4 separate regions of the Homo sapiens genome follow, and all the other regions are linked to region 4. The links are contacts of gene promoters, found by promoter capture Hi-C in blood cells and fetal thymus (Javierre and others, 2016). All regions are on one chromosome and are shown on one strand. Each heading gives the region's core, a stretch centred on a gene start or on the middle of the fragment in contact. The rest is flanking DNA. Distances are from core to core; before and after follow the strand shown. Region 1 overlaps ATL3 (atlastin GTPase 3). Region 2 overlaps ATL3 (atlastin GTPase 3). Region 3 overlaps RTN3 (reticulon 3). Region 4 holds the start of PLAAT5 (phospholipase A and acyltransferase 5).

Evidence for each region. The method cuts DNA at HindIII sites, captures the fragments that hold promoters and counts their contacts. A CHiCAGO score of 5 or more calls a contact.
Region 1: a fragment that was not itself captured here is called in contact with the fragment with the promoter of PLAAT5 in region 4 in 1 of 17 cell types (megakaryocytes); the score reaches 5.1 in megakaryocytes.
Region 2: a fragment that was not itself captured here is called in contact with the fragment with the promoter of PLAAT5 in region 4 in 13 of 17 cell types (naive CD4 T cells, total CD4 T cells, non-activated CD4 T cells and 10 more); the score reaches 8.7 in naive CD4 T cells.
Region 3: a fragment that was not itself captured here is called in contact with the fragment with the promoter of PLAAT5 in region 4 in 1 of 17 cell types (activated CD4 T cells); the score reaches 5.3 in activated CD4 T cells.

The regions. Positions count from the first base shown.
Region 1 is chr11:63,665,584-63,670,569 of GRCh38, reverse strand. The region is part of intron 1 of ATL3 (atlastin GTPase 3); the gene reads left to right. Among named protein-coding and RNA genes, the nearest start is that of ATL3, 3.3 kb to the left of the region's middle. The HindIII fragment of the contact is 7,847 bases long and covers 1-4,986 here.
Region 2 is chr11:63,641,544-63,646,866 of GRCh38, reverse strand. It overlaps ATL3 (atlastin GTPase 3), which reads left to right. Exons shown (of 13, transcript NM_015459.5): 6 at 304-360; 7 at 2,606-2,698; 8 at 3,372-3,510. All of the region lies in intron 2 of LNCROPM (lncRNA regulator of PLAAT3 mediated phospholipid metabolism), which reads right to left. Among named protein-coding and RNA genes, the nearest start is that of ATL3, 27 kb to the left of the region's middle. The HindIII fragment of the contact is 1,164 bases long and covers 2,922-4,085 here.
Region 3 is chr11:63,711,974-63,717,319 of GRCh38, reverse strand. All of the region lies in intron 2 of RTN3 (reticulon 3), which reads right to left. Among named protein-coding and RNA genes, the nearest start is that of RTN3, 33 kb to the right of the region's middle. The HindIII fragment of the contact is 1,095 bases long and covers 1,245-2,339 here.
Region 4 is chr11:63,489,316-63,494,322 of GRCh38, reverse strand. It overlaps PLAAT5 (phospholipase A and acyltransferase 5), which reads left to right and starts at 3,156. Exons shown (of 6, transcript NM_001146729.2): 1 at 3,156-3,436; 2 at 3,990-4,080. The coding sequence starts at 3,289. The HindIII fragment of the contact is 652 bases long and covers 2,540-3,191 here.

The sequences.
Region 1 (4,986 bases), core at 2,483-4,982, 180 kb before region 4:
GTCACCGTGTATTCACGGATCTGATTTAGTCTGTCATTTTACTTGGCTTTATTCTAGTGTAATGTGTGTGCTGTTGAAATGACCGTTTCACTTGCGAAATCGAAGAGCAAAAAGGAAAAGAACAGTGAAGAATTTTTAAATGAGTCTCAGTTCTCAAATTCAAATACGAAGCAATGGAACGTTTTGTCAGTCTTAGAATAACGGACCAAAAATGTACGATTTCACATATTGGCTTACTTTTGGAGATTTAAGAAGCATAACCTACGGAGTACTAATCCCTGTCAAGAATTTAGCATTGCAACATAGGTACTGAAATTCAAATTAGTGCTTTTTTTTTTCCATTCCCACAGAGATTAGCTTGTACTCCAGAAATTCCTGTTGCCGCTCTAACACCTGTAAACACTTGGCTGAGAAGGATCTCAGTATTGCAGTAGTCCAGCACATTGTTTTATTATTATTTTTTGAGACGGAGTTTTGCTCTGGTCACCCAGGCTGGAGTGCAATGGCGCGATCTCGGCTGATTGCAACCTCCGCTTCCTGGGTTCAAGCAATTCTTCTGCCTCATCCTCCCGGGTAGCTGGGATTACAGGCGCTCTCCACCATGCGCGGCTATTTTTTTTTGAGACGGAGTTTCGTTTTTGCTACCTAAACTGGAGTACAGTGGCGCAGTCTCGGCTCACTGCACCCTCCGCCTCCTGGGTTCAAATGATTCTCCTGCGTCAGCCTCCCGAGTAGCTGGGATTATAGACATCCGCCACCAGGCCCAGCTAATTTTTTGTATTTTTAGTAGAAACGGGGTTTCACCACGTTGGCCAGGCTGGTCTCGAACTCCTGACCTCAGGTGAACCACCCTCCTCTCCTCGGCCTCCCAAGTACTGGGATTACAGGCGTGAGCCATCGTGCCCGGCCCATTATTGTATTAGCTACAGTTTACTACCTCATTGTAGTAGAATTCATGAAATAGAAGTAACGGGATAGATGTGGTGTTGTGTACTAGCTTAATTTTCTTTTTCTTTTCTTTTTTTTTCTTCTGGTGAGAAGGAGTCTTGCTCTCTCGCCCAGGGTGGAGTGCAATGGCGCGATCTCTGCTCACTGCAACCTCCGCCTCCCAGGTTCAAGCGATTCTCCTGCCGCAGCCTCCCAGGTAGCTGGGATTACAGGCGCCCTCCACCGCGCCTGGGTAATTTTTGTATTTTTAGTAGAGACGGGGTTTCACCATGTTTGCCAGGCTGATCTTGAACTCCTGACCTCAGGTGATCCTCCTAGCTCGGCCTCCCAAAGTGCTGGGATTGCAGGTGTGAGCCACGGCGCCTGGCCCAGTTGCGTGGTATTTCGATTGTCAGAACACCTTAGATATATTTCACAGCTGAAGTATGTTAACAGATTAGAAGACAGGCTTTCCTGGTATAGTAGGCGCTAATTAGGAAATCCTTACTTGGCCGGGAGCTGTGGTTTACTCCTGTAATCCCAGCATTTTGGGAGGCTGAGGCAGGTGGATCACCTGAGGTCAGGAGTTCAAGACCAGCCTGGCCAACATGGTGAGACGCCCCCCCCCACCCAAAAAAAAATTAAAAAAAAGTTAGCCAACGTGGTGTTGCAGGCCTGTAGTTCTGGCTACTCAGGAGGCTGAGGTGAGAGGATGGAGTGAGCCCAGGAAGTTGGCTGCAGTGAGCCTTTTTTTTTTTCTTTTTTCTGCAGTGAGCCTTGTTCTTGCCACTGCACTCCAGCCTAGGCAACAGAGTGAGACCTTGTCTCAAAAAAAAAAAAAAAAAAAAAAAAGGAACACAGCTAATTCAAACCTTTGGTGGCATTCTTATTCTTAGGAAAGAGATACAAAAGTGTTACTGAGCTCATTCCATTAAAAAGGTTTTTTTCCTCCACTTGTGATATAGCCTGGCATCATTTTCAGATTCAGCCCTCTCCTTGGATTTTCTGAATCTTCAGTACCATTTAGTCATAGATAATTTTTGTAAACCTATGAAGCATTACACAATCCTTAGTCAACAACAAAAAATATGGTTTTGTTCAGCCTTCTGTGCTATGGCGAAAAGATTTTCTACAACAGACAAATATAAAATTTGCCCAGTATTCTGGTTAATTAGATTTAAATAGTATTTTCACTGAAACAGCCTTAAGCGTATTGCAGTGTATCTACTGGCACAATCACTGCCTTAAGACAAAACGGTATATAAAAGCACCCACCCCTCCACCACCAGAAGGAACCACACCCAGCAGTTCTAGAGTTGGCTAAGGTCTTAGTATACTTACTCTTGCCTGTGATGATGTTTTCTCTGGCTTTGTCAGTTAGAAACCTTAAAGACTGCCAGCAAGAACAAGGCATGAAAATGGTATGCCTCTGTTTTGGGTGTGTTGCTCTTGCCCTTTGGAGAATATGATATTTTATAAGGAGACTGGAAAACTCAGGTCATAACTTTACCCTGAGTCATACATGAATCTACTCAGCAAAGTGTTTCTGTGACTGGTTGGTTACTTTGTATTCAGAACTCTTTGAATGGTAAGGATAAACACCAAGGCTGACTCTACTCAGTGGTTCTTAACCTATGGTAATATTGCCTCTTCCTGCCCCTGGAGCATTTAGCAATGACTGGAGACGTTTTTTGGGTGTTAGAACCTGTTGTGGGGAGTGTTACTGGTATCTAGTGGGTAGAGGCCAGGGATGCTGCTCAATAGCCTGTAGTGCGTAGGATAGCCCCCCACAACAGTTGTGCAGCTCCAATGTCAATATGTCAGTAGTGCTGAGGTTGAGAAACCCTAGTCTACACTGTCATTTTTTTTTTTTTTTTTTGATACAGAGTCTCGCTCTGTCACCCAGGCTGGAGTGCAATGGCGCGATCTCAGCTCACTGCAGCCTCCATCTCCCAAGTTCAAGTGATTCTCCTGCTTCAGCCTCCCGAGTAGCTGGGACTGCAGTCATGCACCACCACGCCTGGCCAATTTTTTTGAATTTTCAGTAGAGTCAGGGTTCCACTATATCGGTCAGGCTGGTCTCAAACTCTTGGCTGCAAATGATCCATCCGCCTTGGCCTCCCAAAGTGGTGGGATTACAGGCGTGAGCCATTGCACCCGGCCCACTTCTCAGGAATCCTAAACTCTTGGGAGGCTGAGGTGGGAGAATCACTTGAACCTGGGAGGTGGAGGTTGCAGTGAGCAGGAATGACGCCACTGCTCACCAGCCTGGGCGACAGAGCAAGAATCTGTCTCAAAAAAAAAAAAATGCTTTCTAATTATACAAAGATTTTCAACATTTTCTACATACTTGAACTGATGAGTGATAGAATATTATCATGAGCTATTTACAGCAATGAAGTAGTCCCCATTATCTGAGGGGCATATATTGTAAGGCCCCCAGTGGATGCCTGAAACTGCTGATAGCACTGAGCCCTGTATACACTACGTTGATCAGTGAGAAGGCTACTAAATAACTAATGGGCATGGTAGCATATACAGTGTGGATACTCTGGAAAAGGGAATGATTCATGTCCCAGGCAGGATAGCACAAGATTTCATCATGGTACTAAGAACTGCGTTGCAATCTTAAGACTTACGAATTGTTTATTTCTGGAATTTTAAACATATGTTGTAAATTCACATAAATACATATGAATGATAGATGTAACAGTGGTCCAGCTGTAGCTTTGTGTCTGTGCAAAAACATCACGTTATCCATATTCATGTAAGTAATGTAATACAGCATTAACTGTTGTTGCAGTATGCAGAATTAGACCTTGGAAAATAATTGCTTCTCTAAAGGGACAAGGCATGTAAAGTTGCCACTTACAGATATTTTTAGTACCCTCCCCGGAGACTAGATCTCCAGAGTTTAAGATTCCTGACAAGTGGACCGGGCACGGTGGCTCATGCCTGTAATCCCAGCACTTTGAGAGTCTGAGGTGGATAGATCACTTGATCGCACGGTGTGCGATCCACCCCCCTCGGCCTCCCAAAGTGCTGGGATTACATGCATGAGCCACCACACCCAGTTAGCACTTGACCCATTTTAGTGATGAAACTGAAAACTAGACATGCCCAGGATCACACAGGTTGTTAGTGGCAGGGCTGGAACAGGAACTTGTGTTTTGAGTCCTAAATTTGTATATTTCCACAGGTTACTTCTGAGAGTAAGCAGGTGAATCTGTCCCTTAGGCAGTTGTACATTTAGACTAAATGCAAGTTAGAGATCTGTGAAGTTGTATCATCCAAATAGAGGGTAGGCCGGGCGCGGTGGCTCACGCCTGTAATCCCAGTACTTGGGGAGGCTGAGGCGGGTGGATCACCTGAGGTCAGGAGTTCGAGACCAGCCTGGCCAAGGTGGTGAAACGCCACCTCTACTAAAAATACAAAAATTAGGCGTGGTGGTGGGTACCTGTAATCCCAGCTACTTAGGAGGCTGAGGCAGGAGAATTGCTTGAACCCAGGAGGCAGAGGTTGCAGTGAGATGATACTGGGAGGCTGAGGTGGGAGGATTGCCTGAGCCCGGTAGGTTGAGGCTGCAGTGAACCATGATTGCACCACCGCACCTCTAGCCTGTGCAACAGAGTGAGACCCAGTCTTAAAAAAGGTGTAATATATAAGCAGCTCCATTTAACTTGCATTATTGGTGTGTACAGCTCAAAATAATTCTTCCCTTACATAAGCCCAAACCCAAGGATCACTGTCAGTGAACAACATCTTTTTTTTTTTTTGAGACAGGGTCTTGCTCTGTTGTCCTGATTGTAGTGCAGTGGTTGACTTACTGCAACCTCTGCCTCCCAGGTTCAAGTGATACCAAGTAGCTGGGATTACAGGCGCGTTACCACCAAGCCTGGTTAATTTTCATATTTTTAGTAGAGATGGGGTTTCGCCGTGTTGCCCAGGCTGGTCTCGAACTCCTGATCTCAGGTGATCTGCCTGCCTCAACCTCCCAAAAGTGCTAGGATTATAGGCGAGACCTCCCATGCCTGGCCAACAAGATCTTTTTTAATCTGG
Region 2 (5,323 bases), core at 2,254-4,753, 150 kb before region 4:
AATGTGGCTGCTGTGTTGAGAATAGCCCATAGGGAGGCATGGGCTGAGGCAGTTAGGAGGCTATTGCAGTATTCCAAGCCACATGGAAATAGTGAGTGGCTGGATTCTGGATTTGTTGATGAATTGGGATGTGGGATGTGAGCAGGGAATAACCAAGATGATTTTAAGGTTCATGACTCCTGTGGGCTTTTGAAACTGTAGAAGTCTGGTATCAGTATAAATATAATGAATACTTTGCTAAAAAGGCCATAGAACTATTTTAAGTAATTTTGCTTTACAAACCATAATGCTTCTTTTTTAAAGCTCTTCACAGAATACGGTCGTCTGGCAATGGATGAAATTTTCCAAAAGCCTTTCCAGGTTAGAATATTTATTTTAAATATAATTCATACCTTTGTTTTTGTTTTCACAGATTGGCAAACTACAGCTCATAGGCCAAATCTAGCTTGCCACCTGTTTTTATATGACTTGTGAGCTAAGAATGGTTTTTACATTTTTAAATGGTTGAAAAAAATGAGCAGTACTATTTTATGACACGTAAATTACCTGAAATTCAAGTGTCATTGTCTGTAGGTAAAATTTTAGTGTAACACAGCCATGCTCATTTGTCTTTGTACTGTCTGTGACGGCTTTCCTGCTACAACGGCAGAGTAATCGCTTAAAAAGTAAGCTCTGTGGGTTGGGCGTGGTAGCTTACACCTGTAATCCCAGCACTTTGGGGAGACCCAGGTGGAAGAATTGCTAGAGCCCAGGAGTTTGAGACCAGCCTGGGCAACATAGCAAGACATCTCTTAAAAAAATGGGGGTAGGTACAGTGGCTCATGCCTGTAATCCCAGCACTTTGGGAGGCCAAAGCAGGCAGATCACCTGAGGTCAAGAGTTCGAGACCAGCTTGGCCAACATGGAACCTGTCTCTACTAAAAATACAAAAATCAGCTGGGCGTGGTGGTGGGTGCCTGTAATCTTAGCTACTCAGGAGGCTAAGGCAGGAGAGTCGCTCGAGCCTGGTAGGTGAAGGTTACAGTGAGCCGAGGTCATGCCACTATACTCCAGCCTGGGCGACAGAGCAAGACTTTGTCTCAAAAAAAAAGAAAAAAACAAAAATAAAATAAAATAAAAAGGTCGTGCACGCCTGTAGTCCCAGCTACTCGGTGGGGTTGAGGTAGGAGGATCACTTAAGCCTAGGAGGTCAAGGCTGCAGTGAGCCATGATTGTGCCACTGCACTCCAGCCTGGGTAACAAAGCAAGACCGTCTCAACACAAACACACACATACACACTCACTCACTCTCTGTCTCTCTCTGTCTCTCTCTCTCTCTCTCTCTCTGCAAAAAGTCTTTGCTGACCTATGCCTCAGTTCAGTGTTTCTTGAGAATGAGGAAGCACAGCAGCCTCAGTCAATGGGATTAGAGGTGCTTTCAGTGTGTAAGCCTTATTTCTTTTCTTTTCTAATTTATTTTTTTTTTTTGAGATGGAGTTTCTTTCTAAAATTTTGCCCAGGCTGGAGTGCAGTAGCATGATCTTGGCTCACTGCAACCTCTGCCTCCCAGGTTCAAGCAATTCTCCTTCCTCACCCTCCTGAGTAGCTGGGATTTCAGGCGCCCGGCTAATTTTTTGTATTTTTTGTAGAGATGGGGTTTCATCATGTTGACCGGCTGGTCTCAAACTCCTGAGCTCAGGTGACCCACCTGCTTCGGCCTCCCAGAGTAAAGGGATTATAGGCATGAGCCACGGTGGCTGGCCTTCCTTTCTAATGCTGAAAACAGACCTGATTTTTTTCTTTTTTGGAGACAGAGTCTCGCTCTGTCACCCAGGCTGGAGTGCAGTGGCGTGATCTCGCCTCACTGCAACCTCCTCCTCCTGGGTTCAAGTGATTCTCCTGCCTCAGCCTCCCAAGTAGCTGGGATACAGGCGTGAGCCACTGTGCCCGGCCACAGATCTGATTTTATGATTAGCTGGTGCCATGTGGTTTTCTCTTTTGTCCTTTACTGTATTCCCCATAGATTTCTTTAAGGCAGAGTCCCAAATTTACCATTTTCTCATTAATGTCTTCCTTCTGTTCCTACTAACCTGTGGGAACAAAAATAGCAGATAGGATATATTGACCTCATATTTGGCTTAAACATGTCCCTCCAGTGTTTGTAAAACTTCTAAGACATTACAGAATAGATAAATCTGGCCGGGTGTGGTGGCTCACACCTGTAATCCCAGCACTTTGGGAGGCCAAGGCCACAGGATTGCTTGAGGCCTAGAGTTCAAGACCAGCCTGGGCAACAGAGCAAGACCTTGTCTATATAAAAAAATTAAAAAATAAGCCAGGAGTAGTGGCATGTGCTTGTAGTCCCGGCTACTTGGGAGGCTGAGGTGAAAGGATCACTTGAGCCCAGGAATTCTAGGCTACAGTGAGCTATGATCATGCCACTGCACTCTAGCCTTAGTGACGGAGCAAGGCCCAATCTCTTTAAAAAAAAAAAAAAAAAAAAAAGGTAAATCCTTCTACTTTACCCCCTTTGTAGAAGCTGGCATTATGCAAAGATGTATTGCAGTTGTTCTCTTGAAAATGTGTTTATGCATGTTAAAATATGTTCCGCTCTTTTCTTAAATAGACACTGATGTTTTTGGTTAGAGATTGGAGTTTCCCTTATGAATATAGCTATGGACTCCAAGGAGGAATGGCATTTTTGGATAAGCGTTTACAGGTAAGTGGGACTATAATCTTCTGATGAATTATCTCAAAGTAGTGATAGCTTTCTCATTTGCTTTTGGCTATTGTGTTTAAAGCAATTATTGAAAATGATATTGAATACATTAACTATATATGAATCTTAACACAAGCTAATATTTATTCTTGACAAGATTAAAGAACCTGTATATACAGTACACAGGAACTGTAGAAGAAAACTCTGGGCCAGTGCCCAAGCTTTGATTATAATTTCCATTTTACATTTTAAACCAAGTTCTATATGTGTCTTTAGAAATCATACTCAGAATTTTAGTTATGTTATTCTTCAAAATTTTTACTTATTTTGGGATAGATATAAACAGGCCTAACCTGTTCCCCCAAACCAAAACACAGGAATCCTTTGTCTGTCACTACTAATTGGTTAGATCCTCCTTCATCCCCACAAACCATCTCTTGTGTAATACTCATTTTAATGAAACTCTTATGCACCTGTTTGCTAGCTATAGGAGTCAAGCCGTAGGTAATCAGATTTGTGTGTTTATTGCTTCTTAGGGTTCTGAGTTTTCTCATTTGGCCACTATGATCCATCAGAGTTGAGGAGTCTTCTTTCCTTTGTCCTTATACTAGTTGTCCCTAGTGAAGAAAACCAAATGACTTTTGGTTGGTAAATTCTTGGTCTTCATTGGCAGGTGAAGGAACATCAACATGAAGAAATTCAGAATGTTCGAAATCACATTCACTCATGTTTCTCCGATGTCACCTGCTTTCTCTTACCACATCCAGGACTCCAGGTGGCCACAAGCCCTGACTTTGATGGGAAATTAAAAGGTGTGTTCCAGGTGTTATTTTAAACCTGTGATTCGATCTTTGGAATTAAAAATAATGAATCACTTACAAATCAAGTGAATGCTTAAGAAAAATGGTATGCTCTCTTAGAAAGAGTAGTATTTAAAGTCTAGTTCAGATTTTGCTCCTGACTTACTGAGACCATCAGAATTAGTTTACCTTGACTTCTCCACCTGAAATGGTGGTGTTCATATCCATTAGTAGTCTTTCTAAAGAGACTCATTATGGTTCTTGGTTTACAAGAGATACAAATGCTAAATAAAGGAAGACTAAACATTAGTCAGCTAATATTAAGTAAAATTAACTTCCTAAGGGAAGGCAGCATGATGCATGGCAGAGCTATTATTTTCATCTTATTTGTGATTATAGCAAAACCTGACGCTGGGTCATGTGCTAATATCAGGAAGTGCTAACTAAATGGTAGGTGAGAGGAATCGTAGTTGGGACTCTTGGGCTCCATTATCTTATCTTTGTTCCTTTTTCATTAAGGCCTTGAGTCATTAAATGGCTAGCCCTTAATTTATACATGTGTTAAACTGAGCACTTGTTAATAAGCTTATCCGAGTCTCTCAGATTCCTGGTAATGTTTGCAACACTATGCTAGGTACTTTGATATTTATGCTCCCAGTAATTCCAATGACTTTGATGTCATTTCCTTTATCTTATATGTGAGGAAAATGGCAAAAATAGTTAAGGAAAAGGAGGAAAGTTAAGTAACTTGCTCAAAGTGCTCAGCTAGTTAAGTAAGTGGTGAGGCGTAGATCTACATCCAAGTTCTTGTTGCTCCAAACCCATACTGGGCTAAAATAGGGGTTCTTCTGTTATATGGAGGAAATCATTTAGAGGATATGTACTGTTTAGTTACTACTAAAAGGTTTTGAAGTGAATGGTTTTCATAGCCTCATATTAAATATAAAATGCATCATTTCCAACCTATTTGATTTAGTTGATCCAAGAAAATGAATGTTCAACTCAAGATTTTCATTCTAGCTGGTCTTAATATTGCAAAGAAACTGAGTTAAAGAGACTTAACCTTTACCTTTTATTTGTCACTTCTCTGATACTTTTACGTGATTGACAGCTTTCCTGAGGAGGAGACTTCCCTGGCCTGTTTCATGGCAATTGAAAAATCTAAGATTATTGCTTGGGGAGAGAAATCCGCTTGGCAAGCAGTGGACCTAGAACCTTTTACCTGAAAAGCAGTTTCAAGGGAGTTTTCAGAGCTGAGTAGGGAGAGAAAGTTAAGTGTGTATGTGTATGTCTCTAGGTAATATATTGTTTAGGATTATAATGCTCCATTATTGGTTGTACTTTTCCCAACCTGAACTCAGATTTGTTCATCACTGATAGGGAATGTGTCCAGTGGAATTCTTAAATGGAGGTGTTAGGAGAGGGTGAATTAGAGTGACTCCTAGTGATTATCCAGTATAAACACACACACATGGCATTCTTCCATAGTTTCAGTTTTAGTATTCCAATGCATTGCTTTAAAGTTCATTTTCATTTTTATCATTCAGGGAGTAGGCAGAGTTTTTTAAAGTTCAGTAACCCTGGCTTTTGAAATTTGTGTCACTTTTGGTTGTATTAATTTCCTGTGGCTGCCTTTAACCAATTACCACAAACTAGGTGGCTTAAGACAACGGAAATTTATTCCCCCGCAAGTCAGGGAGCCAGAAGTCCAAAATGATGGTTGGTTCCGCCCGGAGACTCTGAAGGAGAACCTGTCCCACACTCTCTCCTAGCATCTGGAAGTTGCCAGCAGTCCTTGGCATTCTTTGACTTGTACCTTTAGTTG
Region 3 (5,346 bases), core at 543-3,042, 220 kb before region 4:
ACGTTAAGTCTTATCAGTTAATACCATAGTAGCCATCAATCTACCACACTGTTTTCTAACTTCCCACTCTAACAAATTTTTACTGGGGAAAAGGATCAAAACAAATATCCCAAGGGCTGGTGCTTTCTTACTTCATTTATTTGTTTGTTTGTATTTGAGAGAGGGTCTCCCTCTGTCCTCCAGGCTGGAGTGCCAGTGGTACAATTGTGGCTCACTGCAGCCTTGACCTCCTGGCCTCAAGCTATCCTCCCACCTCAGCCTCCCAAGTAGCTGGGACCACAGGCACATGCCACCACACCTGGCTAATTTTTAAACTTTCTTTTCTTTTTTTTTTTTTTTTGTTTTTTTTTTGAGACGGAGTCTTGCTCTGTCGCCCAGGCTGGAGTGTAGTGGCGCGATCTCTGCTCACTGCAAGCTCCGCCTCCCGGGTTCGCGCCATTCTCCTGCCTCAGTCTCCCAAGCAGTTGGGACTACAGGCACCCGCCGCCACGCCTGGCTAATTTTATTTTTGTATTTTTAGTAGAGACGGGGTTTCACCGTGTTAGCCAGAATGGTCTCGATCTCCTGACCCCGTGATCCGCCTGCCTCGGCCTCCCAAAGAGCTGGGAATACACGCATGAGCCACCGCGCCTGGCCTGATTTTTAAACTTTCTACAGACCTGGTGCCTCACTACATTGCCAGGTTGGTCTCAAACTACTGGGCTCAAGCAACCTGCCCACCTCGGCCTCCTGAAGTGCTGGGATTATAGGCATGAGCCACCACGCCCACCCTGGGCGCTGTCTTTCTTGCATACTGTTGTATCTTTGGAGCTGGGACAAAGTGGGTCTTAAATAAATAGCCCCAAATAAGTGAATCAAAGATTCAGCTTGGTCAGCTGAGACCTAAGTAGGCTCAGGACAGCAATGCCTTGAGCATGAATGAGTAACTGGGAAAATGTGACAGAGAAGTTCTTTTGGGATTACCTTTATTCAGCTTATGTTCCCTTTTTCATGTAAACATCCAAATACCAGATAAAAGCAAAATTATGACTTCATTCAAAATTATTTTATTAAAGACAAAAATATTTTACAATAAATAAAATTCCAGTATTATGAAAATGTTTTGAAATGCCATATAAAGTTCCCCTACTTCAACACATCACTGAAACTTGATGTAATAAGAGCTGAGCTTTAGAAATAGTATAACTGTAATCTGGTTATTAGAATAAAAAGTCTTTGTACATTCAAGGAAAACTGTAAAAGCTTGGTGGCAAAGCTATATTACCAAAACAAAACACTTGAAGTAAACTGTAATTCATATGTAGTTCTAATTTAGTAAACATGGTTTGCATCTACCATTATACAGTATGGATATTCAGCATGACTAGATTAGGGCATAACAGAAATGAAGCCCAGTATTGTAGGTTAAAAGGTTCAAAAATCTGAAGTGTGAAGTACTACAGATTACATTTAAATCAGAAATATTCCACAATCTGAGCCATGCATTGTTACTGAACTTACTAGTCAGTGTTTCTACCACAAAACATTCAGTGAACTAAGGTTATGGTAAAACTGTTTGGGAACCTCTCTCTTCAAACAACTCTGAGGTGAGTCAAACTGACTCCACCCCACAGGGGAGGTTCAGCTTATATGTTTTTTTGTGTGTTTTTTGTGTGTTTTTTTTAGACAGAGTCTAGTTCTGTTGCCCAGGCTGGAGTGCAGTGGTGCAATCTCGGCTCACTGCAACCTCCGCCCCCCAGATTGAAGCGATTTTCCTGACTCAGCCTCCGAAGTAGCTGGGATTACAGGCGTGCACCACCGCACCTGGCTAATTTTTTGTATTTTTAGTAGAGAGCTGGTTTCACCACGTTGCGCAGGCTGGTCTCGAACTCCTGAGCTCAAGCAATCTGCTCGCCTCAGCCTCACAAAGTACTAGGATTACAGGCATGAGCCACTGCACCCAGCCAGCTTATATGTTTTATGGAGATGGAGATTTCAGATGATTCAGATCTGTCATCTTACAGATGAAAGTCTACAAAATGAATTAGTAATAATTCAACAGGTATTTATTGAGTGCCTACCACGTGTCAGACACTGTTTTAGAAACTGGGCTTAAAGCAGTGAATAAAACAGAAAAAATTTCTTGCCTTTATGGAGCTTACAACACAGAGGGGAAGGCAGACAATAAGCAAAATCAATAAGCAAAATGATGACAATAATACAGTGGTGACAGTGCCTGATTAAACAAAAAAGAAAGCAACCAAATTGAATGCTAACCAAAGAATATTCATGTCACTGGGAAGAGCATGGTAAAACTGTCTATGCTTTAGCAGGACACAAACTGGTCAGTTTATCAAGCTTTGCTTTTCTCTTAACTTCTTTGAACCTTTAATACTCCAAAAGTTTCAAGTTAGGTGTAGAATAATCTCAGGTAAAACTAAAGTTAGAAGTCCTATTCTCAGAATACTAACACATCCTCTGCTGAGCACCATGATAGCCTGACAGACTTCAAACATTAAGGATTCTCTAGGCTGGGTGTGGTGGCTCATGCCTGTATCTTAGAACTTTGGGAGGCACAGGAGGGAAAATTGCTTGAGTCCAAGAGGTCAAGATCAGCCTGGGCAACATGCTGAGATCCTGCCCCTACAAAAAATAGAAAAATTAGCCGTGCATGGTGGCACGTGCCTGTAGTCCCAGTCACTTGGGAGGCTGGAGTGGGAGGATTGCTTGAGTCTGGGAGGTCAAGGCTGCAGTGAGCCATGGTCATGCCACTGCACTCCAGCTTGGGTGACAGAGTGAGAAAGAGAAAAGAGAAGAGAAGAGAAGAGAAAAGAGAAAAATGAAAAAAAGGAAAAAAGAAAAAAGATTAATATGACATGGCTACGAGATATATTAAAAAAAAACTCTAATAATGTTCCCTAATAAAAATATTATAACTTACTATTTAGGGTATATCTTGTTTTTTCTGGGGACAAGCTTAGAGGGCAAACAGAGCTCAGTGCTGCATTCATTTCTCAGTGATTGTGAGATGCAGGCGCTAATCATTACTATCAATCAAGCTTTCCCACATGTAGAAAAATAAGGTAGCATCATCATCTGTGCTTTAACTTTAATTATTTTGTTTAGAATTTCAGCAAATGAAAATACCATTTTTGGCTAGCTGAAACCCTAACAAACTTGGACACAGCTGACCTGTACCAAGACAATGGGAAAAATTGGGCTGGAAGTAAAAAGTTTATAAAGGCATGAAAACATTAAATAGAATGAAGACCAAAAACTAATAAGCCTTTTAGAACAGCTCCGATAAGCAAAGACTCTTCCAATTGGTCAGTATGGCACTTGTAGTCACTGCTGTTGCCCAAGTCAGTACCTGGCAAAAGGACAGAAAAGTCCAGTGAATCTGAAGGCAGTTAGCTCTTAAAATACTATACACTGTAAAGCTGTCTGGTGGAATAAATCTGGATTATTTTATGTCTCAGAAAATGTCTACTATCTTTCTTTTCTCAAAAGATTCATCCCTTCACATGCACTCTAAGAGCCTTTCAACACTACTCAAAACAAATCGCCATCAAAACTCTCATTATGAACATTTTCTAAATTAGTTCTTTGCTATAATGGAATTTAGTGTGGATATTCATTTTCAAGAGTTCTAATCACTTAAAAACATGGTGCTACTCTAATTATTAACAAATAAAGTCATAGATCTAGTAGATTTACTAAAAAGGGAATCAGCTGAGTGTGGTGGCTCATGCCTGTAATCCTAGCACTTTGAGAAGCCAAGGCAGGGAGACAGCTTGAGCCCAGGAGTTCGAGACCAGCCTGGGCAACACAGTGCGACCCCATCTCTACAAAAAAATTAAACAATTAGCCAGTCATGGTGGCATACACCTGTGGTCCTGACTACTTGGGAGGCTGAAGTGGGAGGACTGCTTGAGCCCAGGAGGTCGAGGCTGCAGTGAGCCATGCACTCCACCCTGGGTGACAAAGCAAGACCTTGTTTCAAAAAATGGGGGGTGGGTGAGAATCGATATATGGTAAGAGGTAAAAAATGTCATATCCCCACAATGATCATGAACATGTTCTCAAACTTATCAAGTACTCAGCTCCATGATTACTCATCTTCTTAAACTCTAAATACTCCACTGAGATATATTATCTGAAACAAAGACTAAGAAATTAAGTTGGTAGTCATATTCTAAATTCTAAATTTTTAGACCCAAATAAAAAATTCTTTTATATTTTTGAGAGATGGAATTTCACTCTTTTTGCCCAGGCTGGAGTGCAATGGTGTGACCTTGGCTCACCGCAACCTCTGCCTCCTGGGTTCAAGCGATTCTCCTGCCTCAGCCTCCGGAGTAGCTGGGATTACAGGCATGCGCCACCAGGCCTAGCTAATTTTGTATTTTTAGTAGAGACGGAGTTTCTCCACGTTGGTTAGGCTGGTCTGGAACTCCCAACCTCAGGTGATTCGCCTGCCTCGGCCTCTCCAAGTGCTGGGATTACAAGTGTGAGCCATTGCGCCCGGCCAAAAAATTCTTATTAAAAAATTCGAAGTCGGCCAGGCACGGTGGCTCACGCCTGTAATCCCAGCACTTTGGGGGCCGAGCTGGTCCTGATCACGAGGTCAGGAGTTCAAGACCAGCCGGATCAACATGGAGAACCCCATCTCTACTAAAAATACAAAAAAATTAGCCGAGTGTGGTGGCGCATGCCTATAATCCCAGCTACTCGGGAGACTGAGGCAGGAGAATCGCTTGAACCCAGGAGGTGGAAATTGCGGTGAGCCAAGATCACACCACTGCACTCTAGCCCAGGCAACAATGTGAGACTCCATCTCAAAAAAAAAAAAAAAAAAAATCAAAGTCCTTTAATCACAATTACTAATCGTGTGGCCTTGAGTAAACTGCTTAATCCAATCTCATCAAAATGGGAAAATTAAAGCACCTAACTTTAGAACTGCTGTGAGGATTAAATGAGTTAATACATGTTCACAGTAGTAGCTGCCACTTAGTAAATCCCCAATAAATGTCCCCAAACACCACATTCTCAAAAAACTCTCTTGACATAGAGACTCCAGACCACATGCCTTTTTACTAGGGAGAGAAAAGGCATATTGGCAAACTGTAACCACCTTCATCTGGTATATAATACAGAAAATCCTCATGTAGAGCTTTAGACACTTTCCCTCCTACCATTCACATATTAAGGAAGATAATTCAAAGAGCTTTTATCTACTTCAAAATCTTAGGTGATGCAACGTCTGAATACGTTGGTACAAACCAAATGCCTATGGCATCCTAAGAATTGTGCTAGGTTCTATGCAGATAAAGATGCTTGAGAGCCCAGCCTGGCATAGTGGCTCATGCC
Region 4 (5,007 bases), core at 1,907-4,406:
TATTTTGAGCAACTTGACAAACTAGTTTTGCAATTTATAATGAAAGGCAAAAGCTCAAGCATGGTTGAGAAGTTCCTGAGGAAGAATAAGTAAGGAGGGATCTTGAGATATTTGTACATCAAGATTTATCATAAAGATGTAGCAATTAAAACCACATGATAGTAGCACAAAGACAGATACATTTATCAGTGATACTGAATAGAGTCAACAGTATTCCTGCTCTTTCAAAGCATTATGCAGGACAGAGGTGGCCTTGTTCATCTATGAAGAAGTGGAAACTATCAACAAGTGATGCTGAGACAGTTATTCATATGAGGAAAAATGAAGTTGGATCCCTGCCTCCCACATATACAAAAATCAATTCCAAATGGATTAGCGAAAAAGGCAAAATTTAAAAACATTTTCAAGAAAATATAGGAGACTATCTGGCCAGGCACGGTGGCTCACGCCTGTAATCCCAGTACTTGGGAGGCCAAGGCAGGCAGATCATGAGGTCAGGAGATCGAGACCATCCTGGTTAACATGGTGAAACCCTGTCTCTACTAAAAATACAAAAAAAAAAAAAAAAAAAAAAAGAAAATTAGCTGGCCATGGTGGTGGGCGTCTGTAGTCCCAGCTACTCAGGAGGCTGAGGCAGGAGAATGGCGTGAACCCGGGAGGCAGAGCTTGCAGTGAGCCAAGATAGCACCACTGCACTCCAGCCTGGGCGACAGAGCAAGACTCCATCTCCAAAAAAAAAAAAAAAAAAAAAAAAAAAGAAAATATAAGAGAATGTTTTCTGAATTCAGGGCAAGAAAGACTTCATGAAAAGATAGGGAGCTGACCACAAAAGAAAAGACATGAATTCTACTTGTCAGAAGACATCATGAAGAAAGTGAAAAGACAAGCCATGAACTGCAAGAAAATGTGTGTAAACAAGTATAACTGACTAAAGATGAGTATCAAGAATATACAAAGAGCTCTACAAATCAAAAAGAACACAACTCCAAAGAAAAATGGGCAAAGGACATGAACAGACACTTTTAAAAAGAGGGAATGTGATAAATATATGTAAAGGTCTCAACTTTATTAGTGATCAGGGAAATGCAAATTAAAACGCTGGTGAAATACTATTTTACATTCACTCACCTGGAAAAATCAAGAAGTGTGACAATACTAAGTGTTGGTGAGGATGTAAATTAATAAATCTTACCCATTGCTGGTAGAAGTGAAATTGGGACCACCAATTGGGGAAATAGTTCTAGTGTTTTATTGTAAAGTTGGATATTTGTATATACTCCTAGGTATTACATCTTGTGTGATGTCTGCATGCATACACCAGGATACAAATTGGGTTCTTCTCAATTGTTTCCAACCCCAAATTGAAAAAAAAAAAAAAAAAAAAAAGAACCAACAAATCACCAAGTGGCTTTATCACTAGGTCAATAAATTGTGGTATAGCCACATAGTGGAATATTTTACTGCAGTGAAAATGAATTACAGGACTATACAGCACTGTGTATGTATTATAGAAACAACTTTGAAAGAAGAAAATTGCAGAAGAGAACTTAACAGCATGATACCATTTGTCTTAGTCCATTTGGGCTGCTATAACAAAATACCATACGCTGGGTGGCTTATAAACAACAACAATTTATTTCTCACAGTTCTGGAGGCTGGGAAGTCCAAGATCAAGGCACCAGCAGATTCCTGTCTTGTGAGGGACTGGTCTCAGCAACTGCTGTGTTCTCACATGGTGGAAGTGGCTAGGTAGCTCTGCAGGACCTCCTTTATAAGGGCTCTTATGAATCCCACTCATGACCAAAGGGCCCATCTCCTGATACCATCACTTTGGGGGTTAGAATTCTAGCACATGAATTTTATGGAGTCACAAACACCCAGACCATAGCACCATTTTTATAAAGTTTCAGAGAAGCAAAACAAAGTGATGTATTAGGGATACAAAGAAGCGATTTAAAAAACTATTTTAAAAAGTGAGGGTATGACAGACACAAAGGTCAGGATAGACGTTGGGCGTGCAGAGGGAGAAGGGATAAGGAAGGAATCCATAGGTGGGGAGCATCTGTACTAGGAATGTTCCATTTCTTACGTAGGATGGTTTTGTCATGGGTAGTAATTACATTATGTTTCCTAACTGTGTGCGAGAGAGAAGGAAAGAGAAAATCAGTTGGGGAAGACTCAATGCAGAAGCGGCCTGCCTGAAAAGTCACAGCAACAGGCAAAAATAAAACAACCTGGTAAAAAACTCAGGCTCCACCTGCACACAGATAAGCAGACAGGGTCCAGCACAGAAGCCTTTTGTTCTTTGTATAATTAGGGAGCTCCCAGGAAAGTTTTCTCCCCTTTTCAGGCATATACATGGTGGGAACTTTCACAGGGAGGAGGGGGGCTTACCTAAAACAAACCCACAGTTATGCAAACAAAAAAGGCGGTGCTTTGTGCTTGCATAGATACATAACCACAGCTGCGTAAGACAGCTTTACTGATAAGAGAAGTTACTCAAACTACTACAGAGATAAGAGATTTTCTTGCAAAAGCTTTTGAATTCAGCTGTAACAGGGCAATCCACTTGCATACTCAGCTCACTGTGGAGAGCTTTCTTCTTTCGCTTATTAAACTTTCGCTCCCACCTCACCTTATGTCCCGTTCCTTAATTTTCTTGGAGTAGGACAAAGAATCCCGGGTATCAGTCCAGACAAGGAGAAACTGCTACATTAAGGTACATTGGCAAGACTGCAACATGTGTATTCCATGTACTTTTTCATAAGTTATCTATTACGTAAGTGTAGATTTCATTTTCTATATATTTTTAAAAATAAAACAACTCTGAATTGTTCAAGATTTTAACCCCTGATTGTGCCTCCCAAGGCTTCCTAATCTGGTCTCCATTTACCCCTCCAAGTCACGCCTCTGTTCCAAACCGTTCAGCTTCTCCAGCCACTTTAGGCACCACCTCTGAGCCTTTGCTGTTTCCATGACCTTCCCCAAAACGAATAACCTCCTTCGCCCCTCTCCGCCTAAAAGACCCACAGATTCCCGGGCCTCTAAGCGCCCCGTTTCGTCCCATTCTGTTCTCGGACGCGCTCACTGCGCCCGCGCCACTGTCGCCACCCCGCGCGCCTCTGCCGTTTGCAGCCCGCGGCGCTTTCCCCTCCGCGGTTCCTCCCCGAGCCGCCCCCAGTGCCCAAGCTTCCGCGGCTCCGCCGACCAGGGGCCGCGCCGACTGGGAACTCGCCAGGGGCGTAGTCCCCTGCAAGGCCTGGGGGCCGGCGAGGCCGCAGAGGCGGGATGGGCCTGAGCCCGGGCGCCGAGGGGGAGTACGCGCTCCGCCTCCCTAGGATTCCCCCACCCCTCCCCAAACCCGCCTCGCGAACCGCCAGTACCGGGCCCAAGGACCAGCCGCCTGCGCTCAGACGTTCAGCTGTGCCCCACTCAGGTCAGCCCCAAGAATGCGGCTGAAGGACAATCCGCAATTGTCCTTCAGGTCCCAGCGGGCGGTTACCCTCAAAGCTCCTTTTCTTAAGACATTTGGCGATTGTGTTGTCTGTTAGCCATCATGAGCGAGTATTTCAGAACGACCGCTTGTTATAAAGCTAATCAAAGCGAGCCAGGCAGCCACTCCCTCCTTCCCGCTATATCTCATATGGAAGTGAGGCAGTGGTGGCAGCTCCGGAGGGTGGTGTTAAGACCGGCTCTGGCTCGGCAGAGGTTCCTCCCATCGGGCTTAGGATAGAGGCGAGGCGCCCTTCTTCATCCTCTCCCCGATTCCGTTCCCAGGAATCCCAAAGTCTCTCTTTGGCAGAGGAACTGAACCCGCTCCAGCACCTAGTTCCACAACCCTCTCCATTCATCCCAAGATTTTCTGAGGCCTAACCAGGGGCCAGGCACGATGCTAGACTAGAGCTCTGAGCCCACTCTCCGTAGCGGTCAAGGTGCTTGCTCGAACTCTCCTTTCACAGGTCTAAATAGCATTTCCCCCCTTGAATTAGAAGAATCCGTGGGATTCGCAGCGTTGGTCCAGCTCCCAGCCAAGCAGCCTCCGCCGGGCACATTAGAACAGGGCAGAAGCATCCAGCAAGGGTAAGAAGATTGTAAGGTTGGGGTCTTTGGGTGGAAGAAATCTTTTGGAGAATTGACTTGGAATGCAGTTCTGTAAAACAAACCCAGAGGTGGTTTTTGTGTGAACCAGCCAGCCGGTACCCAGCAAGGGGAAGGCTGGTGTGATCCTGGGTGATAACAGATGGTACTGGGCTTGGGACCTGCTGGCCACAGGCATGCGTTGCAGCTGTTTCTAGCCACAAGGCCATTCTCTAGACCCCAGAGAAATGAATGGCTTTAGCAGGAGGCTTACAGTATTGTCCTTGGTCTCACTAATCAGTGAACAATGAGTCGGCCTTTGGCAGATTTCCTGAATTCACTTTCATTAACAACATGATGATTGCTGCTTTAAAAAATTCCGAGGGGCTGAAATTTTGGAGAGGAGCTCTACTGAAAATGAGGGGTGTCCCCTCTGCCCCACACACTATTTTTTTCTGGAGAAGAGTTTAAAGCATGGGAAAAGGTAAAGAAAAAGTCATTTCTGAGTTGGTGGTATACCAGATGTTTACATGTGCTGTGTCCTTTCACCTTCTTGACCACTGTGAGACACATTTTCATCTCTATTTTTAAAGATAATCAAGCTGAGAGTCAGACATTAATTTACTAGCTCAAGGTGGGACAGCAATCATGAAAGCTAGGATTCAAACCTAGATCTTTTGGCTTCGAAGTATTTTACTCTACTATACTACCTTAATTTAATATGCTTGAAAGCATATTCTTGCCTTTCATTTCTGTCCTCTCCTGTAACATTTTGTTTCAAGGGAGAAATATACTGATTTCATTCATATTACTTGCAGTTGCAGTGTTGTGGCTTATCAAGCTTTCTTAGAAATCTGGGGCTAATTATTGGAAGAAAGAGTTCAAGGGGTTTGCCTCTGGGCAGTAGGGCTGGGATGAAAAGGGAAAGGA